Linked DNA regions of Homo sapiens: region 2 is linked to region 1. The links are contacts of gene promoters, found by promoter capture Hi-C in human tissues and cell types (Jung and others, 2019). All regions are on one chromosome and are shown on one strand. Each heading gives the region's core, a stretch centred on a gene start or on the middle of the fragment in contact. The rest is flanking DNA. Distances are from core to core; before and after follow the strand shown. Region 1 holds the start of TUBA3D (tubulin alpha 3d). Region 2 has its middle 16 kb from the start of LINC01120.

Evidence for each region. Contacts are between HindIII fragments. The study calls those that stand out against the background at their distance.
Region 2: a contact is called between a fragment that was not itself captured here and the fragment with the promoter of TUBA3D in region 1, in 1 of the 25 tissues and cell types used here (adrenal gland).

The regions. Positions count from the first base shown.
Region 1 is chr2:131,474,834-131,477,393 of GRCh38, forward strand. It overlaps TUBA3D (tubulin alpha 3d), which reads left to right and starts at 1,286. Exons shown (of 5, transcript NM_080386.4): 1 at 1,286-1,369. The coding sequence starts at 1,367. It also overlaps a transcript of MZT2A not described here. The HindIII fragment of the contact is 16,461 bases long and covers 1-2,560 here.
Region 2 is chr2:131,417,335-131,419,894 of GRCh38, forward strand. No RefSeq gene overlaps it. Among named protein-coding and RNA genes, the nearest start is that of LINC01120, 16 kb to the left of the region's middle. The HindIII fragment of the contact is 3,797 bases long and covers 1-2,560 here.

The DNA of each region.
Region 1 (2,560 bases), core at 36-2,535:
TCAAATTCTTGGTAAACAACTTAGGAACTGCCTCTTCTTTTCCTTTATAAAACCCACTTATAACTGCTGCCAATATATTAAGACAACTTGCATCTCCAGGGTTGCACTTCTCAAACTTGGCCCAAATAAACTCTATTTTTTTTTCAAGATGGAGTTTCGCTCTGTCGCCCAGGCTTGAGTGCAGTGGCGTGATCTCAGCTCACTGCAACCTCTGCCTCCCAGGTTCAAGGGATTCTCCTGCCTCAGCCTCCTGAGTAGCTGGGATTACAGGCATGCGCCACCGTGCCTTGCTAATTTTATTTTATTTTTTTGTATTTTTTGTAAAAACGGGCAAGGTGGGTCTCACCACGTTGCCCAGGCTGGTCTTGAACTCCTGACCTGAAGCAGTCCTCCTGCCATGGCCTCCCAAAGCATTGGAATTACAGGCATGAGCTGGTGTGCCTGACCCAACGTCTCCACTTACGTTAATTTTGCCTCCTTTCTTCCTTTTTTTTTTTTTTTTTTTTTTTTTTGAAACGGAGTATGGCTCTGTTGCCCAGGCTGGAGTGTGCAGTGGCCCAATCTCGGCTCACTGCAACAACTGCCTCCCAGTTTCAAGCGATTCTCCTACCTCAGCCTCCCGTGTAGCTGGGATTACAGGTGCCTACCACCAGCCAGGGTAATTTTTGTATTTTTAGTAGAGACGGGTTTTCACCATATTGGCCAGGCTGGTCTTGGGAACTCTTGACCTCAGGTGATCCACCCGCCTCGGCCTCCCAAAGTGCTGGGATTGCGGGCGTTAGCCATCGCGCCCGGCCCGTTTTCTCCTTTTGGGTCACAAAAGTGATTGAATCCTGCCACTTCCCAGGTGCTGGGTGGGAACAGGGAAGAGGGGGATAATTGCGGTGCTGCTGTGACTTGGGTAGATGGCGGCAAGGCCTCTCAGAGGTGGCCTTGTTTGCAAAGATCTGAATTAGGCAGGGAGAGGGGCAGGCCTGGGGCAATCAGGGAGGGGCAGTGGCACACTGGGAGCAAGGCAATGTTCCGCGACCCACAGAGGCAGCGCAGTAGCTGTTCCAACCCTGGTCAGAAGACACCCCGGAAATGCCTCAGCAACCGCGCAGCCTTTGATGACCCCCGCTGCCTTCCCGCCAATCCTACATCCAATCAGAGAGCGTCCCCAGTACACATGTTGAGCAATGGCCAATCAGAACTGGGATCCGGCCCTCAGCCCGCCTCCCAGGAACTCCGAGCCAATGGCGGCCTGGCACCGGCGGGCCAATCCCGTGCGGCGCGCACAGGCAGGAGGTTGCAGTTGGGCGCTCAGCAGCTGTGGCAGCCGGTTGAGGTCTGGCAGTAGCGTTGGGCTGAAGCAGCGGAGTTCGCCATGGTAAGGCCCGGGTCACTCCCGCCCCGCAGATGCCCAGGCAGACGAAGTTGGCCTCGGGTGGACAGAGGGACGTTGTTGCGGGCCTGGGCGCTGAGAGGAGGCCAGAGAAGGACGCAGGGTCTAGTGCGGGACAGGAGGACACGGGATCGTTTCCTGGATCTTTGGGTCCCAGGGCAGGGACGGCGGCTTTTGTTTTAGATGAAGCTGCCGGCCTTTAGTGAACGGGACCATTGACGGTGTCCCGTCCCCCAGAGAGCAAATAGTGGCGTCGCCTCCTGAAGACGGGAGGGCGCTGCTCCCGCTTCACACGTCTTTGTGCTACTCGAAACAACTGAGGAGCCCCAGGAGCCTTCGGTGACGGGGGTTGGGGCTGTGGACATTGATCAGATGAGGAATTAAGGCTCAGACGCTGCTGCAACATTGCCTTGTTCACCTAAAGGCAACCGTTAGGCCAGGCGCGGCGGCTCACGCCTGGAATCCCAGCCCTTGGGGAGGTGGAGGCGGGCGGATCACCTGATGTCTGGAGTTCAAGATCAGCCCGACCAACATGGCGAAACCCAGTCTCTACAAAAAAATACAAAAATTACCCGGGCATGGTGATGCGAGTCTGTGGTTCCAGCTACTCGGGAGGCTGAGGTGGGAGGATCAGCCGAGCCTGGAACTTTGAGGCTGCAGTGAGTCGTGATGGCGCCAGTGCACTCCAGCCTGGGCCACAGAGACCCTGCCTCAAAGACACAAACAAAAAAAGCAGCCCATTAACATAACAGATTCCCAAGTCCCAAGTCTGAATAGCTGTGGTTTGTCAGTTATCCTTTTTTTCCTTTCTTTTTCTTTCTTTTTTTTTTTTGAGACAGCACTCAACAAATGCTGTGTTGCCCAGGCTGGAGCACAGTTGCAGGATCACGGCTCCCTGCAGCCTTGAACCCCTGGCTTCCAGCAGCCCTCCCACCTCAGCCTTCCGAGTAGCTGGTACTACAGGTGTGTGCCACCACACCTGGCTAATTTGTAGATTTTTCATAGGGACAGGGACTCACTATGTTACCCAGGCTGGTCTCAAACTGGTCCCAAGTGATCCTCTCACCTCAGCCTTCTAAAGTGCTGGGATTATAGGAATGAGCCACCACACCCAGCTTGGCAGGGTTTAAAGAAACCACCAAAGGACAGTGCAGTGTCCCAGCACTAATGACGTCT
Region 2 (2,560 bases), core at 38-2,537, 57 kb before region 1:
AACACCCTCAAGCTAGTACAAGTCCAGGGGTTTTGTTGTAAGAATAGAATAATTTTATAGGTATCCAAGGAAAGAAACCAAAAGTATGGTCAGTCTGCATTTGTTTAGAACTGGAAAGTAAAAGCTAAGACTATTTCTGTAGGTTCTCATGTATCTTAAAAGGAGGCAAGGCAGAGAAGATCTATTGGCAGCTCTGCTATTAATTCTTCAGTTTCTCTAGTTAACCAGTTACATTATTATTAAGTAATAATAATAATTATTAAGTGTGATTATTATTGTGATTTATATTATTATTAAGTGGGATTATTATTAAGTGTGAGTCATTAAAAAATAGAGGAGGTTGCATAGGCATTTCCGGCAGTTAAGAAATCAATCATCTATCCATCCATCCATTTAGCTATATACTTTGAGATGCTCAAATCACTCATTTTCCCAGCTGCCAGCAGTGTTGGAAGTGCTGAGAATGTTGTTAGCTGATGGCTCACAGATGAAGGGAGGCAGCTTGCCCAAGGTGGTCACCAGTTCCAACTTTAAATGTATAACAAATATGGGGAGGGAGAAACAATCTTAGGGGTTGAAAGTCAGCATTTCCATACACCGATGGTCCAAGCATTCTGGGGCATAATTGACAACATGATGAATAATTTTCCTTGCTGAGCATACTCCTTGGCCCAACAATGCTATTTAAACCAACTTATCCCAAGGCACTAATGAAGGATGTGCACAGATGTTTGGCTATTGAGATGTTTATTCAGTGTGGTCAGTGAAGAAATAAACTAAGTATCCAAGAGCAAAGGGTTTGTTGAGTAATGCCTACTATGGAATATAACACAGCTGTTAGAAATGAGGTGGTATCCACCTTCTTGACATGAAAACTGATCTCAATAAGGACCGAGTGAAGGAGGCAGGTTAGGAAACACATGTATAGTAGGCTCCTAATTTTATTTGTTCAAATCATTTTAGAAGTGCGTAAGAAACACTTGGAGAATTATATGTCAAAATACTAACAGTGATTACCTCTGTGTAGTGGTGAGTGGGATTAGATAGGATTTTAATTCCTCTTGACATTGTGCGTTTATTGAATGCTTTATAGAGAATACATGCTTACTGTGTTAGCAAAAGGCCAATATATATATTTTTTTGAGATGGAGTTTCGCTTGTGTTGCCCAGGCTGGAGTGCAATGGCATGATCTCAGCTCACTGCAACCTCCGCCTCCCGGGTTCAAGTGATTCTCCTGCCTCAGCTCTCCAAGTAGCTGGGATTACAGGTACCCACCACCACACCCGGCTAATTTTGTATTTTTGGTAGAGACGGGGTTTCTCCATGTTGGTCAGGCTGGTCTCGAACTCCTGACCTCAGGTGAGCTGCCTGCCTCGGCCTCCCAAAGTGCTGCGATTACAGGTGTGAGCCACCGCGCCTGGCTGGCTATTCTTATACTTGAGAGTTGGCCGACTAATTAGTACCTGAGTCCTAATGGGACAAAGTCACTTTCTGGTGCTGCTCAAAACGGTGTTGACAAGAAGAATCATGATCATGAAATGAAAGAATGTCTACCATGGCAGGGTAACCAGGAAACAGGAATCCAGACACTTCTGTCTCTCTTTTATTTATTTTTCTTTGTTATTATTTTAGTTTTTAGAGTTTCTGGCTAAAAACAGAGCAGAAATCTTTGTAAAACACACACACACATATACACACAAACACATTATAATTTTCCATATGCTACTTCTCTAGATTTTTCAAAAATCCCCTCTCATCACAAAAATCCTTCTGCAGACCGTAAACACATGAAGATCTTTTAAACATTCATTCCACTGGCTTTCCTCCTTAGAAGCATTATATTTTCCATCACATTTTAAAACACTAACATTGTAACAACAGAATTCAAACAGAAATAAAACATATTGTAAAAAGATAGGTGTTTTGTTTGAAATAATGGTGTTTATTTTACAATGCATATAATTAGGTCAAATTGTAAAAAGCATTTTTTTCCCCACACAAGAGATTTCATAAAGTATGCACACAGGTTATCCAGAATGCAGTAAGCCTTTTCCACCAGTTTTAATGCACCTTTTGTACCAAAGGGCAAACCTATCACTATGGCTTGTGGTGGCTTAGAAAGAAAAACAAGCATAGTATTAAGAGAAATGCTGCAAGATGTGTCTATGAAGAGTACTACAGTGAGTTGTTAGGGCAAGGGGCACGTGGTCTTAACACAGGCTGTCCCAGGAAATGCCCGGCCTCATCCTCTGAGGAGGTCTCCGTTTTGGAAAACAGCTCACGTTCTTTTCGGGTTTGTTCATTCCTGGATACTCCTAGTTTTACTGCGTGGGAGCGGGCGGCTTTCCCTTTGGTTTTAGGGGATTACTACGTCTGGTGCACCCTGCTGTTTTCTTCTTGTCCCGAATTGTTCTCTGCTGTTCCTGCAGCCTCCCTTCCCACTGCTGGAAAGCAATTTGTCAGCATGACTACCAAATCATCTCACCCTTTATGCTGTTCAGCTAATGTGAGAATTAAAGCAAGTTTTTTGCTGTAATATACTAATATCGACAACAATTG